4 separate regions of the Homo sapiens genome follow, and all the other regions are linked to region 4. Evidence: promoter capture Hi-C in 16 types of primary human blood cells and fetal thymus (Javierre and others, 2016). All regions are on one chromosome and are shown on one strand. Each heading gives the region's core, a stretch centred on a gene start or on the middle of the fragment in contact. The rest is flanking DNA. Distances are from core to core; before and after follow the strand shown.

Evidence for each region. The method cuts DNA at HindIII sites, captures the fragments that hold promoters and counts their contacts. A CHiCAGO score of 5 or more calls a contact.
Region 1: a contact is called between a fragment that was not itself captured here and the fragment with the promoter of TRMT9B in region 4, in 1 of 17 cell types (erythroblasts). The highest score is 5.1, in erythroblasts.
Region 2: a contact is called between a fragment that was not itself captured here and the fragment with the promoter of TRMT9B in region 4, in 1 of 17 cell types (endothelial precursors). The highest score is 8.5, in endothelial precursors.
Region 3: a fragment that was not itself captured here is called in contact with the fragment with the promoter of TRMT9B in region 4 in 10 of 17 cell types (M2 macrophages, megakaryocytes, endothelial precursors and 7 more); the score reaches 15.1 in M2 macrophages.

The regions. Positions count from the first base shown.
Region 1 is chr8:13,550,521-13,553,432 of GRCh38, reverse strand. It overlaps a transcript of DLC1 not described here. Among named protein-coding and RNA genes, the nearest start is that of C8orf48, 15 kb to the left of the region's middle. The HindIII fragment of the contact is 2,215 bases long and covers 526-2,740 here.
Region 2 is chr8:13,678,414-13,681,113 of GRCh38, reverse strand. No RefSeq gene overlaps it. Among named protein-coding and RNA genes, the nearest start is that of C8orf48, 110 kb to the right of the region's middle. The HindIII fragment of the contact is 9,349 bases long and covers 1-2,700 here.
Region 3 is chr8:13,657,705-13,660,691 of GRCh38, reverse strand. No RefSeq gene overlaps it. Among named protein-coding and RNA genes, the nearest start is that of C8orf48, 92 kb to the right of the region's middle. The HindIII fragment of the contact is 2,528 bases long and covers 130-2,657 here.
Region 4 is chr8:12,944,362-12,947,324 of GRCh38, reverse strand. It overlaps TRMT9B (tRNA methyltransferase 9B (putative)), which reads right to left and starts at 1,652. Exons shown (of 5, transcript NM_020844.3): 1 at 1,359-1,652. The HindIII fragment of the contact is 4,153 bases long and covers 149-2,963 here.

The sequences.
Region 1 (2,912 bases), core at 384-2,883, 610 kb before region 4:
AAACATTATGCTGGTATGCTGATGAGAAACTCAGTGAAATGAAGATGAAACAGGATGAAAAATACAGAAGTGATACTCTACAACACATGAGAGAGAAAGGGATATAGTACATGCATGGAGAAATTGGCCTTATATAGGAGCACAGAAAGTTCATCTAAAACAGTAAGAAGAAAGGTGATACATATATATATATATATATATATACATATATATATATATATATATATATGACAGCTGGCAGGTATTTGTCAATATAATGACTTATAAATGTTACTTTATTGATAATTAGCAATCAATAGCACACTAGTGACCAATGCTGTCAAGGTTTAGGTGTGTTTGCAGTCTCTGTGTGTTGATAACTATTGCATTAATGAAACTAATATTTTGTAAGCTGAAGTAACAAGCTTTTAGTATAATATTCCTATTCCTAATTCTGTGATTAACCAATGAAAGCTAAATTTCTTCCAAACATACTGCTTTTCCATAAAATTAAATAATTTCTTCTAATGTACCAAATAAGAAGCTTCATTGTGAAATACATATTAATGCTCTCTAGAAAAGATTTAGTTTATGTGTTTTCTGTGATCATTTTCTTTCACTTAGACTTTGTACTTTCTTTTAATAAGAGAATATGACAATACATGTGAGTTTTTCAAAAAATAAAAAAATACAAAGTTCAGTCTCATTTTCTTGCATTTAAAAAATATGACAAAACCCTTTAAAAAACATTTTCCTGTAGTAATTTTGTTGTTGCTTTTCTCTTATTCCATTGTTAATATTCTCAGAAATTAATACTCTATGAACACATTTCTAGTACATAGTATAGAACAGTGGTCTTTAATTAGTCATTTATATAACTGCCCAACAGAACTTTGGAAAAATATATATTCACTCATGTTTTTAAGGTTACAGCTGATACTTCTATCATAAGATTAAATAGTTGGGAATGATAGAATTTCTAGTTTTTTATTGTATATATATTTTTATTTATTTTCATCAAAATATTGAATCTGAAAATTTAGCTTATTCAATTTATTAAAACTTTGTCCATAAATAATTTACTGGCAAATCCAATTTTCATTATTAACCAATCAGTCAGATCCAATAAACATGCTAATATGCTTCCTTTAGAATTATTTCACTTCCAAGTTCTACCTTGTATATAGGTATATATGTAGACAGGTATGGGGGTATATATATATATATCTGTCTAGACAGGTATATATATACACCTCTAGACAGGTATATATATACACCTCTAGACAGATATATATATGTACCTCTAGACAGATATATATATATATATATATATATATATATACACCTCTAGACAGGTACATACATATATATAGAGAGAAAGAGGTATATATATATATGTGTATATATATATATACACACACACATATATATATACACACACATATATATGCACACACACACATATATATACACACACACACATATACATATACACCTGTCTAGAGGTACATATATATACCTATATACTGTCTAGAGGTACATATATATATATATATGTATATATACCTGTCTATATATATATATATACACACACTTGTCTAGAGGTGCATATATATACCTGTCATACACATATATACCTGTCTAGATATATACCTAGATATAGATACATATATGTTTGATAGATACATATGTTTGATATAGAAACATATGTTTGATAGATATAACTACATATGTTTGATAGATACATATGTTTGCCTTGCCAAAAGTTTTTCATCTAGATAAAATAAGATGTCTCACCTTCAATCATTTCATACTGAACCTCTCTTTGATTTGTTCTCAAAGGACCTTAACATGCCTTATGCAGCACTCCAGAAGTTTTATAGTTGAGAGCAATGCACCTTAGTAACACTGCAGATGAATGAGAGATTATTTGTTAAGTGGGGAAAATGCTATTGTGAAAGAGGTTGGAGGGAAAGAGAGAGTAATCCTTCACCCATGATCAACCCATAGACTCGTTCTTAGGCAAATTAGTTTTAGGAAACAGAGATATGGAAATTCATAATAAAAATTCAAAATCTAGAACTAGATCCCTTAAAACTGTCTGAACCCACATATATCTGGAAAATTTTTATGTACTCCCAGAGATATGTGTGCACATACTGAAGACTGTGATTTAGAACAATGCATGCTAGATTGAACATCTAAAAGCTACATTCTTTGTTTTGGCCGACTACAACTGACTTTTCTGTGTAAATCATTTAACTCACCAAGTATTAATTATAGTTTTGCAAAGTAAGGGATTTTGGCTAAGGTAATATTTTCCAAAGAGTTTTCAAATGAATATTCCTCACAAAGTGTTCTTTGGAAAAAAAAAAAAAGTGTGTGTGTGTGTGTGTGTGTGTGTGTTTAAAGAAATCTGAGGAGTGCTGTTAAATGTGCTTTTTGTGGAAAGTAAAATACACATTGGTAGAGTAAACTCACTGAGAATTCTTGCAAGAGAAAAACATATTTAACTTCATTTAACCCATTGATTTCTAGGCTATTTGACCATACATGATTATTCTTTTTTAATCGTAGCTAATAGCACCATTAAGGGCTACTGTTCTAAGGAAGATACTTCAAGAATCTGAGCCAGAGTTTTCTGAGACTCTTTCTAGCCATACAGCTCCGTGATTTAATATGGAACATGTAGCTTGATTCCAGTAGTAACTGCAGTAACTGGTCTTCTTAAATGATTCGTCCATTCAGCAGTGTTTAAGCTTTAATTAAAGATAACACAAGCTGCTCTGGAAAGAGCTAAAATAATATACATAATGATATTTTGTTTTAAGATTCTATTATTTTATTTCTTTTCTACTTATACAAAATGCTCCTGCAGAAAACCATATGCCTCCGTATATATTTCTTTACTATGGGGTATGAGTGAGACTTAC
Region 2 (2,700 bases), core at 111-2,610, 730 kb before region 4:
ACCAGCCTAGTCAACATGGTGAAACCCCATCTCTACTAATAATACAAAAATCAGCCGGGTGTGGTGGCAGGTGCCTGTAAATCCCAGCTACTCAGGAGGCTGAGGCACAAGAATCACTTGAACCCGAGAAGCAGAGGTTGCAGTGAGCTGAGATCACACCACTACACCCCAGCCAGGCAACAGAGTGAGACTCTGTCTCAAAAATAAAAAATAAGATTATATATATATGTATATATATTAGAATGTGTATTATCTGAAGGTTAACACAAATCTATTAAGTACATGGAAGGAGTTCATGACTACATAAATAGTTTTTGTTTGACAGCAAGCAGGAAACATACACCTAAAAAAATAAGTGGGTTTAATGTCTTCAGTAACTTATTAGAAAGATTAATAAAGAAATATTTCCAAAAATTGAATATATTTTAAGAATAAAATTGATTTACCTCTATTACTTGTTTCTTCTATTTCAAGAAATAACACTAATCTGTTAATAACATGGGAATTTCCCCCCTATTTCTTGATATGATGCTGTCTACAACTAAGATACAGATTAAGACTCACTGAATGCTCCCTTATGAGAATAAAAATGCACAGTACATTTTGTAGAAGATTAGTGTTTCGCATCATGACTTTACTAAATTTTAAGTGTTCCAGGATAGATATGTGGATAATGCATGGCAGCTTCCAATGAGCTTGCTTTCTGGTAGAAACAAGGAGCTTCTCTTCTCTTTACTACTTCTTGGTGGTATTCTCCATTTTACTCTCATGAAACTTTTCCTCAGGAAGCCTGCATTCTTTACAGTAGTGGACAATAGAAGAGAATGGTTCATTAAATTAATATTGTTACCAAATATTGCTACTACGACGTCCACTCCACTCTACCACATACCCCAGCCAAAATATCTCATTTCGTGAACTGATAGATGAGGGACAGATGATAGACAAAATTTTGCTTTTTACTTTAAATTTTTTAATTTACTTCTAACCATTTACCATTTGACATTACAAAAACTCTACATGTGTCATCACCATAATCCTATGTAAAAGGACTTTTGTAAAGCCCTGTTATGTAGGATTATAGTGATGACTCCTGTATTTCAAATTGGCCCTTTTTTCAAGCCCTACAGTTTCTCTTTTTTCCCCTCAAAGTACTATGTTTATTACACTATAGAGTAGTATTTTACACATTAGCTCATTTTATAGTAAAAACATCTATGTACAACTGTAGAGAAACTGCTGCACAGATAACTCCAACTCAAATTAGAAAATATTTTCTCCGTAGAAAATAGTAAAAATTGTAACGTTTACCAAGCTAGCCCAACAAGTTCATTTAAACCAAATAGTAGCTAAATACATTATACATTTATTAATACAAGTTGAATTCTGAGATCCAGGAGAAACTTCAGTTTCGTTTATTGAAACAGCCATGTTTTAACTTATGTGAAGTGAAATTTCCATTAATCTTCTCTTTTACTCTTAATGTATGCCCGATTGTTTTTCTTTATGCTAAATCCATAATCCACAACCAGGTTTTAGCTTTTCTCTTCTAAAGGAAAGGCAACATATCCTTTTAATCTGCTTGATAAGGTACCCATGGCTATCCCAATAATGAAATGGTTCGATTGTTCTTAAAGCAGTCCCAGTATTTGGGCAAAACTAGAATCTAATAAATTACACTGTCACCTAATACCCATGGCTTGACGGGAAGCCATGAGTAACAAGGGTAAAGTGATAAAACCGCAAGTGGATCAAGGAATAAAAGCCAAGAGAATTCTGAGAGCAGAGGGCAAGAAACATCTAGTCATGATTGAAGGACAGAACTGAAGTTCAAAGAGAAAAAGGATGTCGCCTCAAGGATCAGGAGCTGAGCTGGCTGTCAGAGCCCTTAGTACATGTTGATAAAATAAGGGGCAGTTAGAGATAAAGACTGGATTAAGCAAGAAAAACCAGGACCTAGAAAGATTCTAGGTGTTCACAATAATTCAGTGAAAACAAGACAGACCATGTGGCTTTAAATATCCTAGCATAGTATGTTCCAGGATTCCCAGTACAGAAAAAATCTCTGGAAATTAAGGCGAGAAGATAATACCACTCTTAAGCTCCTGTGCTATGTATGTTTCCCAGATAAATAATACCTGAGAAATCAGGCAGAGTTATCTGGCCAAGAAGTCCTACAGTTTCTTACCCTCTAGAATAATGATCCATAGTGAGAATCAAAATGGGTGAGAGACGTGTGAGAATGAAGAAAAGCATAGCCGCCCAACCACAGGTGCACTTTCAGGCAGATCAATTTAAGAAAAATACGCATATCAAGTTCCAATAAGACTATCATTACAAGGTTGAGTTCTCTCAAAAACAACTTGGAGATGAAGTTTGTGGTATTAGAAGTTTATTAGCAAATGTAATCAAAATCAGTGTGGGGAAACAGGAAGACACCAGATGGGGCAGAGGGAAACACAGAGCTGTGATGTCAATTAGGCAACAGCCTCAGGCAACCATGTGGGGAACACAGGAGATCAAGTTCTTGCCAATCCTAGGAAGGGTATGGCCCCAAGTAAGAGGGTCGCTTCCCAGAAGACAGGACAACAAGCCTTTCCTCGATTACAGATGGGGATGATCACGCTATGCCTGGAGCCCTTAAGAAAGTTCTTGGTCCCTATAGAACATGTATACTACAGTTGTGAATGCTACTCATAG
Region 3 (2,987 bases), core at 144-2,643, 710 kb before region 4:
CTTTACTCTCAGCTTAAAGCAGGTTAAAAGATGACATCCAATCACATACTAATTTGAGGCACTAAATAGGCCGGATTTTTCTTTAGATACCCACCAAACAAAGCAGAATAATTTGCAGACAAAGAAGCTTGAAAAAAGAGATTCTTCAACTATACCAATTTCCTCCTCAACATTATTTCTTCCTGGAAATGATGTTCACACATCTTGATGTGTCTTACTTAAGCATAATTGACAAGTGTCATAATTAGATCATTCCAACTCTTCCACAAGAAAAGATACCTTTTAAAGAATATCACTGGGTAGATGTCAAAGTATACATTTCTGTAAGAGGAGATTGGACTAGGCATCTCTCATAACTAATTTGGTTGAATTTTACAAAAATCCTTGAGCTTTCTTCAATAAATGAGAAAGTCACTTTGTAATTAGATTCTTATTTCTATTCAATATGAGGGTCATGCCATGTTCCCTGACCTGGGATGGAGAACAAATGAACAAAAGAGATAAACCTCTGTCTTAATTGCAATTATCTTCTGCATCTCAATCCTCTCCCTAAATTTATTCATTTTGATTCCAATGTTTTCAAACAAAAGAGAAATCACAGGGCTTCTCTGCTTTACCTTCCCATAAATTAAACCAAAAAATTAATGAACACACACTGAACTACAGGATGGTAGATTTTTTTTTCTGCTCTAAAATATGAGGAAATTCTGGCGGGACAAGGTGGCTGATGCTTGTAATCCCAGCACTTTGGGAGGCCGAGGCGGCCGGATCACCTGATGTCGGGAGTTTCAGACCAGCCTGACCAACATGGAGAAACCTCGTCTCTACTAAATATACAAAATTAGCCAGGCATGGTGGTACATGCCTGTAATCCCAGCTAGTCGGGAGGCTGAGGCAAAAGAATCTCTTGAACCTGGGAGGTGGAGGATGAGGTGAGCAGAGATTGCACCATTGCACTCCAGCCTGGGCAACAAGAGTGAAACTCCGTCTTAAAAAAAAAGGAAATTCTTAATGGAATGGTAATTATGGTTATAATTACCATTCCAAGACTTTAGATGTTTTCTCTATCTTTAATAGAATGTTATTATAAGTTGTATATTTACAAATTTCAAAGATATACAGTGATTAAAATGCAAATTCATTAGGACACTTATGAAACCTTTAAAAGAAGGCTGGGTTGCACTCCGGCATAAAAAAAATGCCACAAGGTGGCACTCCTTCTTAATGTTAGACTCTTTAAAAACAAATAAATTATTCTGAATTGTGTTAGATTTCCAGACTAAGACTGACGTTTCACCATATTATTCTAATCTCCAATAATTGCATTAGCTTGGTGTTTTGTGAGGTTAGTTGATTCATTTTAAGTGACCTAAAGCAGTTATTGTACCACAAGTTTTAATAAATGCGTTTCATGACAATGATGCTACCAGGCATTTCTGAATATGAAGCACATTGGTTAAAGAAACATCTCAATAGACAAAGCACAGGCTCTGGAGCCAGAAGTCTCGGGTTTGGGTTTCGTCTTTTTTAATTTATTCTCTGAATAAACTGAAAACATGCTAAACTTAATGAGTCACAATTAACTCATCTAGAAAATGATTATCATTGAGCATTCCTCATCGTTGCACATTGCCCTGTTCATTAAATTACATAATGTACAGAAACACTGAACGTAATAGGTTTTTTGAAAGCTGTACCCTCATGCACACATACCCTAAAATGCTGGTACTTGTGTAACTTGTCTTTATAATTTTGTATATATTATCTGAAATAAATATTTTACAATAATTTGTGTAAGGCTTTTTAACACAAAACTTCTTTGAGCTGGCTGTGGTGGTGCATGCCTGTAATCCCAGCTGCTTGAGAGGCAGAGGTAGAAGGATTGCTTGAACCCAAGAATTTGAGACCAGCCTGGGTGTCACAGCAAGTGCTCATCTCTAAACAACAACAACAAAAAATAATAAAAATAAAACAAAGAAAACCTTTTCTTTAAATTATTAAACCAAGAAAAACATCTATATCATATTTAGGATATTATGAAAATCGACATGATATTTAGCCAAATTTTTGAGTGCCTACTATATGCCAGGCACCTGTATTCCAGGTGCTCAAGACAAACAGTGAACAGAGAGCAACATCTGCCTAGCAGGAAGTAGTCAATAAATGGAAATAGAAGACGAAGTCGTGTGACAGGCAGTGAAGTAGTGTAGGATAGCCAAGAAGGCTTCCTGAGAGATGATATTTGCACCAAAATCTCAATGCTGACAAAATGACAACCTTGCTAAAATTAAGAGAAAGAGAAATTGAAGAACAAGTTGCTGCAAAGGTCCTGGCAATGCAATTCTCTTTCACTGACAACAGGAAGAAAAGAAAGTTTGAATGTGGAAAGAGTCGTGAATCAATCAAAGAGTGGAGAGAGAAAAGCTGGAAATGTGGGTAAGAACCAGGTCATACAGGCTGTTGAAGGTCTTATGAGCAGCTTAGATTGTATTCTGAGATTAGATAGCTCTGGGGTTTTAAACTGAAGCGTGATTTAATTGTACTATTGTATGTGTATTTTGGATTCATAAACATGAACATGATATAAACAAAAAATGATGAATTGATGATGAAATGCATTGCTTAGTTATATTGCTTAATAATTCCCAAACTAAGCTTGTTCATAACTAGAAACATTTTACTTTCTGAACATTGAAGAATAAACATTTGGTCTTGTGGTTTCATCATATTTTAACAGTTGCTTATAAGGGAACACACATCAGACCACACGGCACTAATGTCCATGTAGTAATATGTATTTTCTTGTGTCTCAAAGATAATACCTAAAATCTAAAAATGTGTGCTTTCCCTTCCAGAAGGTGGAGGCCTTGGCCCAGCCCATGTTGAATCCAGGTAAAGCCATGTGACAAGTACTCACAAGAGAACATGAATGGAAGTGATGTTTGTTTCTTTTGGGTTAGGGCCTTAAAGATGCTGACAAGTTTCCT
Region 4 (2,963 bases), core at 403-2,902:
AATCATCACCAGGCTGAATGGTAGACCCGGGTGAGCTTAACTTCAGATTGCAGGAAGAAATTGTGAGGTGTGTTCCAGTCTCTCAGACTGATCTTTAGGAGACTGGAGACAAAATATTCCAACAACAGGGATAGGCAAAGCTCAAGCTTTATGGCCTCATTGGTTTTAAAGGATTCCCCACAGTGACCCAGTCAGAATGGACTGAGAATCAAAGAGCTCACAGCTGTTTATTAGTCAGCACAATTTAGAGACAGACATGCTAACCAAGAGCTGTCTTTGTCATTTTGGGATGTTCACGGGCTGGAGTCCCAGTAGCCATCTCCTAAATCCTAAACCCTTCAGTTCTTCAGCCATTTTGCTGCTAGAAAGTGTGTAGCTGCTGCCTTTATCCAAGGAACTGATATCTTCCACACCTCTGAAACCTGGAAGACCTTCTCAAGGTACATAGGGAACTTCCTGGCATTGGGAATAGGATGGTTTCTTCTCTTATAGGGTTTTATGCACCAAAAAGAGAAATGCCACTTCTTCTCTTTCTTCCTGAACTTTTAAAAAAGTAGTCCTGCCAAGTCTCATCATTTCTCAAGCACCTGTCCTTGGTCCTCTGCTTTTCTCTCTATATAATCTCCCTAGACAACCTCATCCACCTTTCTAACTGCAAGGAAAAACGCTGTGTAGATTTCTCAAAATTCTGTTTCTCTGAATTGGTCTTCTCATAAACCTGCAGATCCCATGCTCTCATCTTGCTTGACATCTCCACCAGGGTGACATCAACACATTCGAACCTGAGGTCCTTCGCCCTCCGTGCACCTAAAGCAGCTGCCCTTTTCTTTCTTCTACAATCTCCGTCCTCCCAGTCACCTGGCACATTCTTAGACTCTGCTTCTTCTTGCCCTTCATAGCCCATGGGTGACCACCGTCTGACAATTTTGTATCTGTACTGCTTTTATTTATCAACTCTGCTCCCTTCTTATTGTTTCTATTCTAGTTCTTTATGTCCCATTACTTCCCACCTAGATGATTACACTAATTGCTTAATCTGCTCTTCTGATTGCCAAGGCCGTCTCTTCCATAAAAGATAATTCCAGACAAAAAGCTATTGTCTAGATTAATCTTTCTGTCCTAAGAATGTATCAGTTCTTGATCTAGATGCTTCTTACATTTATCACTAACCTTTGTATAAAGTATTATTTTATTCAACAAAGATTCATTGCTGAGCAGTCTGTGAGAAAAGCAATGGGGAGCAAAACAGATAAGATATCTACCCTCATGGCACTTATAGTCTCGTGGGATGACAAACATTAATCAACTAATCACAAATATCACAACTAAAATGTGCAACCCCAAATTGCAACACATACCTTGAAGGAAGACTGCAGAGTTGCTAGGAGAGCTCACAGGTTTCATCACTTTCCCAGAGGGAGGACTGTGTAGGATTCAGCCTTAGATCCTGAAAGTCTAGTCCAGAGCCCTGCACATGGAAGTACTGAATAAGTTGAAGGAACATATGCATCAAGAAAAAAAATTCAAAACAAACTAACAAAAAACACAAAAAATGAAAAAAGAATAAAACAAAGAAAAAAAGCCAAAAGAACATGTGCATCTACTTCTGACATATACATGTGTGATCTTTTCTGTACTACACAATACTGAATAAAACACACACCGGATGTTCCCTCAAATACTGACCTCAACACATAGCCACGTTAGCTGTTTGCTTTTGTTTCCATGACCACATGTCCATGGGGCATCTAATCTCTAAATACACCCTATTTTCTTTGCCAGCATGACAACATGTAGAAACTTGTTATCCTGGTAGCATTACCAAGAATAATTGTTGCTTTATGGTGAAAGTTTTTAGGCATGCTTTAATACTTTGCTGTTATCACCAACACAAACCCATCATCCCTCTTCCCTACAGTTTGGAATGTTTGCTGAAGATGTCAAACAACATTGTTTCTTTTGCCCCTTGGGAAACTGGTTCATCCTCCAGCTGTCCTTTGTGTCATTCGCCAGCTTCCTCTCCATTTCCAAAGCTGTTTGAGTATTACCTCTTCATCCTCATGCTCTTACCTTTTGTCTGTCACTCTTTCATCATTCTGCTATTATGATCACGTAATTTTTGGAGTCAGCTTTTCGCTGGAACACTGAGTGACACATATCACTTGGCTTATTTTATCTCTTTTTTTTTCTTTTTACAATACTATTAGATAATTTGTTTCAAGAAGCACTTTTGTGCATAGAATCTCAGGTCTGATTTGGGTGTGTGTGTTGTTTGTTTCCAGCTTTGAATGAACAAGGACTGGAAAAGATGAGCTTATTTGTCATGGTAGGAAAAGAAAAACTGCAAAAAAATACAATAAATTTCACCAACAGAGAATGTGTTATATAAATAAGGGAGCAACTACATGTTAAAAAATGCAGAGCCATGATCCTGAAGACAATTTAATGACCTGGAGATACAATGCAGTGTTAAATAAAAAGCAGTTTCACCCCAATATTTTAACATTATATAGTATATTTACATATATGTAGGGGAAAATGCTGGACAACCATACAAAAATGTGACTAGTGATTTTCTCTAGGTGATGGAATTTTATTTTCATATATATATATATATATATATATATACTTTTTTTTTTGAGAGAGGCAGACTTGCTCTGTCCCTCAGGCTGGAGTGCAGTGGTGCAATCTCAGCTCACTGTAATCTCTGACTCCCAGGTTCGAGTGATTCTCCTTCCTCAGCCTCCCAAGTAGCTGGAATTACAGGCGCGTGCCACCAGGCCTGGTTAATTTTTTTGTATTTTTAGTAGAGACAGGGTTTCACCATGTTGGTCAGGCTGGTTTCAAACTCCTGACCTCAGGTGATCCACCCACTTTGGCCCCCCAAAGCGCTGGGATTACAGGCATGAGCCACCACACCTGGCCTCTTCTATATATTTTTTAAAGGGAAGGGGATTCTATGC